2 separate regions of the Homo sapiens genome follow, and region 2 is linked to region 1. The links are contacts of gene promoters, found by promoter capture Hi-C in human tissues and cell types (Jung and others, 2019). All regions are on one chromosome and are shown on one strand. Each heading gives the region's core, a stretch centred on a gene start or on the middle of the fragment in contact. The rest is flanking DNA. Distances are from core to core; before and after follow the strand shown. Region 1 holds the start of FAM170A (family with sequence similarity 170 member A). Region 2 has its middle 36 kb from the start of FAM170A.

The links. The method cuts DNA at HindIII sites, captures the fragments that hold promoters and counts their contacts. A contact is called where the count stands out against the background at its distance.
Region 2: a fragment that was not itself captured here is called in contact with the fragment with the promoter of FAM170A in region 1 in 2 of the 25 tissues and cell types used here (hippocampus and psoas muscle).

The regions. Positions count from the first base shown.
Region 1 is chr5:119,627,682-119,632,560 of GRCh38, forward strand. FAM170A (family with sequence similarity 170 member A) reads left to right here and starts at 1,877. Exons shown (of 5, transcript NM_001367956.1): 1 at 1,877-2,157. The coding sequence starts at 2,088. The HindIII fragment of the contact is 14,754 bases long and covers 1-4,879 here.
Region 2 is chr5:119,591,189-119,595,693 of GRCh38, forward strand. No RefSeq gene overlaps it. Among named protein-coding and RNA genes, the nearest start is that of FAM170A, 36 kb to the right of the region's middle. The HindIII fragment of the contact is 3,122 bases long and covers 1,657-4,505 here.

The sequences.
Region 1 (4,879 bases), core at 627-3,126:
TATAAAAGAATTATGATTAAATTCATTTGGTGAGATAATGATATTTCTGTTATGCTTTTTAAAAGTTCATATCTTTGTAGGTACATACTGCTGCATTCAAGGAGAAATGACATAATGTCTGGAATTTGCTTTAAAATACAGCAAGTCCCCCACTCCTCTATCTCAAACACCTAAATAAAAAGAAATGAACAAAAGACTAAAAGTCTGTGTGTGTGGTGGTTGGAACAAGAATGGCAGAATACTGATAACTGTTGAAACTGGATTATGTGTACATGAAACTGCATTCCTATTATACAATTCTCTCTACTTTAGTCTGAAAATTTCTACCACCCAAAAAAATGCTCTTTGGCCCCTCTTTTTTAGGGATTCTTTAAGAAACTGGAGATTTAATCTCATCAGCAAATTTTTACAAGGCTACATTTGCCCTATCTTCATTCTCCTTCTGCCTGGGGACAGTCTGCAGTGCCCTTTCAAATTTGGGCCCATCTTGGTCCTCTGGGTATTTCTACTGCTTTTTTAATGCAGTGATTTCTGGGAGTCCCCCTCATACTTGTCAACTAATAGTCCCACTGGACTGGGGCCACTGCCCCAAATAAGGTGTCTCTAATTTTAGATTGGAATCAGGAAGATCCAGATGGGTTGCCACTTATAACTGGTATACATTTCAGCCCATGAGCAGAGATGTGCAGGAAATAGTATGCAATTTTCTTATGTAACTCCATTTAATTTGTAATTTAAGCCTTGGTTCTGTTGATGTCCTCTTTGGATTTCCACCCCTCCCTATTTGGAAATCATACAGGGCTGAGGTTTTGAGGGTGGGGTGAGAGCATAGTCTCTGGTTATTGGAGCATACAGCTGAAGTTTAGATGCCCATCAGCTCAGCTGCCAGGGAGTCTTTAGGTGGTGTGGCTCCTATGCCATGTGTGAGATAGGTCGCCATGATTCTGCCTGTACGCATAATACAGGCAGCCCTTCTTGAAGTTTTTGCCACATGTACCTCTTCAGCCACATTTTAGAGGGCTCCTCTCCTCCATAGTTTGAAGATCCCTCTCTCTCTCTGACCTAATCAGTACCTCTCAACACTATAGTAGAGCAAGAAGGGGGCATGCCTAGTTAAAAAAAATCCTGCTTCCGTTATGTTTCTGCTAACTTTCCTCTTTCCTACAGAGTTTGAGATTTTAGAAATAAAAGTCAGGTGGGGTGTGGTGGCTCATGCCTACAATCCTAGCACTTTGGGAGCCTGAGGCAGGAGGATAGCTTGAGGCTAGGAGTTCAAGACCAACCTGGGCAACATACTGAGACCCTGTTTCTCAAAAAAAAAAAAAAAAAAAAAAATTAGCCGGGTGTGGTGCCTCGTGTCTGGTGCCTGTTGTCCCAGCTACTCGGGAGGCTGAAGTGTGATGATCACTTGAGCCTAGGGGCTGAAGTGACCCTATGATCACACCACTGCAATCCAGCCTGGGCAACAGAGAGAGACCCTGTCTCTGAACAAACAAAACAAAATAAAAACAACAAAAAAAAAAAAAAGAAAGAAAAGTCAAGATGATTAACATGCTATTGCTGCTTTCAGCCCTGCCATACCCCTCCTCTGAGCAATGAACACAAAGCCTGCTACCTGCTTGAGTCCAGAAGGGAAAGGGTGAAAAAAAAAGAAGAAAAGAAAAAAATTAAACAGAACATGTTAACATCTCAAAATATTCTGCCACATTTGAAATACGGGAGAGTTGAATTCATTAGAGGACTTCTATTGGAAAAAAGGAATTGTTTTTGAAAATGATGTCTCTGCAGTTGCACAGACTGTGTTGGACCTAGGTCCGTAGAACGCCGTGATGTCATCATTGATGTCAGAGAATCTGCGATGGGCCTGGTGACCTTTGAACCTTAACAGCCCTGCAGTGTAGTGGGCACTGGGCAGTGCTGCTCCTTCACTAAGCGGTCTGAGTTCTTTAGCTATCTCGGAGATTCAACTACGTTTACTCGTACTGAATCTTTTTAATGAATTTCCTGAGAGCCAAGAAGGGCCAATCTACAGGAAAAAGTGGGAGGTGGACATTAAGCATCTTCTAGAAACTCTTCTAGCTGATATCATGAAACGACGACAAAAGAGGAAACATTTGGAAAATGAAGAGTCCCAGGAAACCGCTGAGAAGGGAGGAGGTATGTGCGGGGCAAACTTTCTGGGGCACAAGCGTCACTGGCCAGCCTGAGCCGCCTTCTTTTTCTTTTTTGAGACGGAGTCTCGCTCTATCGCCCAGGCTGGAGTGCAGTGGCGCGATCTTGGCTCACTGAAAGCTCTGCCTCTCGGGTTCACGCCATTCTCCTGCCTCAGCCTCCCGAGTAGCTGGGACTACAGGTGCCCACCACCACGCCCGGCTAATTTTTTGTATTTTTAGTAGAGACGGGGTTTCACCGTGTTAGCCAGGATGGTCTCGATCTCCTGACCTCCTGATCCGCCTGCCTCGGCCTCCTTTTTTTTTTTTTTTTCGTTTCTGAGACAGAGTCTTGCTCTGTCGCCCAGGCTGGAGTGCAGTGGTGTGAGCTCGGCTCACTGCAAGCTCCGCCTCCCAGGTTCACGCCATTCACCTGCCTCAGCCTCCCGAGTAGCTGGGACTATAGGCGCCCGCCACCACGCCTGGCTAATTTTTTTTTTTTTTTTTTTTTTTGTATTTGTAGTAGAGACAGGGTTTCACCGTGTTAGCCAGGATGGTTTCGATCTCCTGACCTCATGATCCACCTGCCTCGGCCTCCCAAAGTGCTGGGATTATAGGCGTGAGCCATCGCTCCCGGCCAGCCTGAGCCTTCTTTAGGGAGGAGAAACTGAGGAGAATGTACCACCTATGCAGTAGGGAGGGGAAGACCTGGCTGTTGGCTGATGCCCGCACATCCATCTTGAGGGTACCCAGATGTGAGACGGACAGGAAGTTCAGATGCCACTGGCACACAGAAAGCCAACCCTGCTGGGCTGAGAACTTTTGCTCTGGGGCTGCTGGTACCTGGAACTATGCCAGTCTCAGGCAGGCGGGGGACCCACTTACAAAGACCCAGTGATGCAGCCTGAGTCTCATCTTTCTCTCGTATTCTCTTTATTTGCTCTTTCTCTGGGGTGACTGAGGTGGAAGGTGTGAAGGGTGCTGGTAGAAGTCTATGATTTGCACTACACCTTTTAGCAGAAACGAGAGTAGCCCAATGAGTTAAAGGCCTTGTTGAAAAATATCTTGAGAAGTGAAATGCTTGTTAGAAAGTAGATTAAACACTTGTTTAGGGATGGCGTCATAGTGAAACCACGGAGGTTTGATTGCTTCAGCGGGAAGAATTAACCAATTAATCCAATAGAGTTTGTGAATCCACAGTGTGGGACTTCCCAGAGGAAATGAAGCACAGGGTAAGGGCCTCAGATCGCTGTCAATTTACTTCCCAGGCTGCATGATAATGGCATGTATTAAATGTAAACAAGCCACTTATCCTGAAAGGGGGATGCTCACATGCAGGAGACAGGGCAGAAAGGAGCCTGCCCCAGAGATGGCCCTGGAGGCTTCTGCCCCGATTAGAGCTCAGCAGCGCCTATGAGGCATAAAGACCTGTAGGTTGAGCCCTGGGAATGGAGGCGTGGAGAGTAGGCATGGAGAGCAGGGGGCTGGGACAGGAAGGGGAAGGCAATGGTTTTCCTCTCCTTCATCTACCCTTACATTTCAGAATGTTTTGTCTGCCTGTGTGTGTGTCTGTGTGTGCACATGTGTGTGTGTGTTGGGAGGGGGAGGACTGGAGATAATGGGAGCACAGTGGTGGGGTCTGCGGGGTGAACTTCCTATCACCATGCCTGGGCCTGGGCAACACTCAATACACATAACAGTGTATACCGAATTTTTGTTAAGGGTATTCCAGGAGACAGTCACTCATATGCCCATATATACTCTGATACAGAGAAAGAGTCACACACCTCCACACACAGTGGATATAGTTATATACACATACCGTTCCTCTATTACATACTCACACAACCCATGTGTGTGACAGTCTTTTCTTCCTACAGAGATTTCTTGTGTGTGGGGAGTGTGTGTGTGTGTCTCCTCAACTCTCACACAAACACATCTATGTTAAACTATCTCTAAATACCTCTTTAAGAGCCAGTCACACATCATACATGCCATATCTGCAACACATTGTGTAGCAGAGCCAGGCCTGCTTTGCATAGACCACAACGAAACAAAGATTCACCACCATCCCCTTATTAGGGTTGCCGGATAAAATACAGGATGTTCAGTTAAACTTGAATATCAGATAAACCACCAATGATTTTTTAGTATAAGTGTGTCCCAAATATTTTATGGAACATACTGACACTAAAAATAAGTATGACAAATATTGCACGGGACATACTTACGCTAAAAAAATTATTTGTAATTTATCTAAAATTCAAATTTAACTTGGCATCAGCTATTTTTGTTTGCTAAATCTGATGACCCTTATAAATTCATAATGAGCTGACCTATGATATACTTATATATTTCTGCTTAATGTCTGTCTTCCTTGTCTAGAATGGAAAGTCCACTTAGAAGAAGGACTGTTTTGTTCAGTATTCCTAGAGCCTAGAAGAGTGGACTGGTGTCTGATTCATGGTAGCTGTTCATGAAAATATTGCCAGATGAATGAATTAATGTACATTATAAATACAAGCCACACCATACAATCAGGAAAAATTACATATTGCATAATTTCAGGGTTGTAAACACAAAACTATGCACACAAACTCCACAGACACAGACACATGTTTCTACAATATACCCACACAAATCTACACATATCAAAGGCTATCTGGTATGTATCACTCTTACGCTTCAGACGTACTCATAGTCACCACACAGGCCTATGTTCCTATTGA
Region 2 (4,505 bases), core at 1,968-4,467, 35 kb before region 1:
CCCTTCCTCAACTGATATAGGAAGGATTAAAAGTACGGAACCTATACAAATTCAAGTAGATCATTCTAAACCTTTGCCTAAATTACTGTAATATCCACTAAAACTTGAAGCAATTCAGGGGCCATCACCAACTGTAAAAGATTTACTTTTAAAAAGACATAATTCTGTGTACCAGTTCTTGTAATGCTCCAATTTTACCAGTTAAAAAGCCAAATGAGGCCGGGTGTGGTGGCTTATGCCTATAATCCCAGCACTCTGGGAGGCTGAGGCAGGTGGATCACCTGAGGTCAGGAGTTCAAGACCAGCCTGGCCACAGTGAAACCCCGTCTCTACTAAAAATACAAAAAGATAGCCAGGCATGGTGGTGCATGCCTGTAATCCCAGCTACTTGGGAGGCTGAGGCAGGAGAATTGCTTGAACCTGGGAGGCGGAGGTTGCAGTGAGCTGAGATCATGCTATTCCACTCCAGCCTGGGCAACATGAGTGAAACTCCATTAAAAAAAAAAAAAAAAGCCAAATGAATGAGGCTGGAGATTTGTTCAAGATTTACAGTTAATTAATACAATTATAATACCAAGGTTTCCTGTAATTGCAAATCCCAATACTTTATTATCTAATGTTCCTGCTTATTTGAAGTGGTTCACTGTAGTAGACCTCTACTCAGGAGGAGTAATGTCACAAAAGTAATGGAGTAGAAGCATTCTGGCTCCACTCTTCCCATCAAAAAACTAAATATCCAGCATCCAGATTATCACCAGCAATATCCTAGAACTCAAATATGAGGCTGAGATGATCCCCAGGGCCACAAAGAAGTGCAAAACTCCGAGCAGAGAGTAAGAGAAAGTGACGTCTCTCTCCGTGACGCCCCTCTCCCAATCTGCCAGGGATTACACATGGAAAATTCTTCTCAGACTTATGGTTTCTACTCTGGAAAAAGTGAGATTGAGGCAGACAGCCAGCTTCTGCACCATCTTGGGTACGCTTACAAGAAAACTGTTCCTGCCTCCACCCATAGGAAGCATTGCAAGTGCCTGTAGGGAGAAAAATCCCAAAGAGCAGCTAGAGACAAAATAGGGAGGTGAGTCTAGCAATCCCAGCCTGTGAATTCTGCTCTTTATCTCAGCCAAAGGAGATTTCCAATCAGAGTAGCTGTTCTGCAGCACCATGCTGTAGGAGGCACCTTCCATAGGTCTTCTGGACACAACCTCCAGCCACCTTCTTACATAGAACAGGTGTATCCCATTTGGGACCCCCTTCCCATATGGGACAGGCAGTGCTCTGAACATTTGGGAGAGCTGAGGCAAACCTAAGCTTAAGGTGCCATGTAGTCCCATAAAGGAAGCAGTGGTCTAGGATTAAGGAGACTCAATAGGAAACTGCAAAGAACCTCTAAGTAAACATACTCTAATAAACATACCCTAAGTAAATATACCCTCTAAGAGCAAAACAAACTGTACAGTGAAAACTGGAAAAAAATAACTAATCCTGCAATGTGACGCTATAGCTGTATGTCCACAAGAAACAACAGCAAACAAGGAACAATGACCTCCCAAACAGACAAAGCAAGGAGCCAGTGACTGTTCCTAATGAGATGGTGATGTGTGAGCTCTCAGATCAATAATTCAAAATAGCAATTCTAAGGAAACTCAGGGAACTCCAAGATAACACAGAAAAGCAATTCAGAAATTTATCAAAGAAATTTAAGAAAGAGATCAAAATAATAATAAAAAATCAAACAGAAATCCTGGAACCAAGAAATACATTTGCTAAACTGTAAAATACATTAGAGATTCTCAAAAACAGAATGAATCAAGCAGAATGAAGAATCAGTAACCTCAAAGACAGGCTATTTGAAAATACACAGAGGAGAAAAAAGAAAAATAATGAAAGGAATTAAGAATACTTACAAGATATAGAGAATAACCTCAAACAAAACAAAATGAAAACAAATCTAAGAGTCACTGGAATTCAAGAAAGTTGTGAAAAAGGAAGAAGTAGAAAGCTTATTCAAAAAAATGATAATAGAAACCTTTTAAGGCCTAGCGGAACATCAGGTACAGGAAGGTCAGAGACCTCTGCTCAGCCTTCCTTAGCACTTCAATCCATAAATAGAGTCAATACTTGTTTGCTTTTACTTAGAAAAACCAGCAGTACACCTTGACTGTAATGTCACAAGGGTTTACTGAAGGCCCTTTGTATTTTTCCCCAATATTGCATCAGGACTTAATACCCCTATAGTTTCTTCAAAATTCTGCTGTTACTTAGTATATAGATGATCTGTTCTTAGGCTCTCCCATTAAGAGTGCTATAAAATGGACTAAATTTACCTTTTACAGCAACTCACATATAAGGGTCACAAGGCTTCGATGAAAAAACTTCAGTTTTCAAAAGAGCAAGTCCATTATGACTTGACGGCTAAAGGGATTTCCCTCTTGCCTGAAAGAATAAAACTATTTAAAGTTTTCCTCAGCTTGTAACCAGAAGACAATTAAGAAGTTTTCTTGGACTTGCAGGATATTGCCAATTCTGTGTCTTGCATTTTTTCTGAATGGCCTCACCATTGTAAGAGCTTGATAGAAACACAGTACCAGAGCCTTTACCTTGGGAAGACAGTCATGAGCAGGCTTTTAACCAAATGAATTTTGCCTTACGACAGCCTCCAGCTTTGGGACTTCCAAATTACACTAAACCTTTTACCTTGTTTGTCCATGAATGTAACAATCAGGAATTAGGAGCTCTTATCCAAGAACGTAGAGGAAAACATAGGCCCATTGCATATTATAGCCCTCAATTAGACCTAGTAGTGAAGGTACATGCTAATTGTTTAAAAGCAGCTGCAGCCAAGTTGATAGAAGCTTCATCTGAGCTGATTTTAGGGAATAAACTTAATTTGCAAGTCCCACATACTGTGGGAAGTCCTTTACATGCCAACCAAACTCAGTATTTTTCAGAAAGTAGACCAACATCTTGTTAAATTAATCTCCTTCTAATCTCTATTTAAAATTCTGCAACATACTTAACTCTGCTATTCCATTACTCCTGTCTGATGATGGTGAAGCCTATAATTTTGTAAGGATAATATCAGAAATAGTTGCCTCTTGTGTTGATTTATGAGATACACCATTGGATAATCATAAGTTTTTGTCAATGAGCCCTGTGCCAAAAATTCAGAAGGAAAATATTGGGCAGGGTATGCCATTGCCACCCAAAATAAGTTGAGAGAGAAGGGAGCTCTTCCTCAATTTAAGTCAGCTCAGGACATGGAGCTTTTTGCCCCCACCTGAGCTTGTCATATAGCTGAGGGCAAGTCAGTAAATATTTATGCAGATGGCTGATATACCTTTGGCATAGCACACAATTTTGGTATGTTATAGAAACACCAAAGGTTTCTCATTTCTAGTGGGAACTTCATCAAAAATAGACTCCATGCGGATGAACTCCTTTCCACTATCCTGTTACCATCACAGATTGTCATTATTAAGATTGACTCTCATGCATATAAAACTGAACCTGAACATAAAACAGAATTCTCTAGTAGGTTTTTATGCTCAATCGTTTAGTGCTGGAACGGTTAGGGTATGCTTTCTGAATGAACCTCCTAAGATCGATCCAAGTCAACTTCCTTATGATGACCTATTTAGAAAACAGTATAATGCACTTGATTTGGAGAAACAAAAGTGATCTCTGAAAGGACACAAATTCATTGTTAAAAAAGGATCCAAATTCATTGTTAAGCATGGACTCACAGAGGGCCCAGATGGCCACCTGGTCCTTCCTGAGTCTTTGAAGCTTCTATTGTTAAAAGCTATGCACTTCACAACTCAACATGGAAAAGACAAAGTGATACAAGTTATGAAAAAATATTGTTGGGGTTACTGTGCTAACATTTCTAAAATGGTTCATAACCAATATTTTGGTTTGTCAAACTTATAATCCTGGGAAAACAATCAAAACTTCAGGTAGCATATTCCTACCATAAGATGGGCTATTTGAACACTTAAAGATGGATTTTATTCAGTTGCCACTCTCAGTGGGGTATTAGTATGTTCTTGTAATAGTCTGTGTGTTTCCTGGTTGGTAGAGGCTTTCCTATGTAGGAAAGCTGGTGCTGTAACAGTAACTAAGAAATTATTGGAAAATGTGTTTCCTTAAGGGGCATTCCTAGAGAAATCTCTAGCAGTAGGGGAACTCATTTTACTGGGCAATTTATAAAGCAATTAAAGAATGTATTGTGAACATAATGGCATTATCATTGTTTCTATCATCCTCAGTCTTCTGGAAAGGTTGAAAGAACAAATGGCATATTAGAACTGAAATTGGCAATGCTAACTAAGTCAATTGCATTTTCTTGGCCTAAGACACTGCTGTTGGCTTTAATGGTAATCAGATTCACTCTGACTAGAAATCGTAAGTTGAGCTCTTAGGAAACAGTCACTGGAAAACCTATGTCCCTAATAATAAAAGCTCACACATTCCTTGCTCTCTTAAACTCTGATATGATTAAA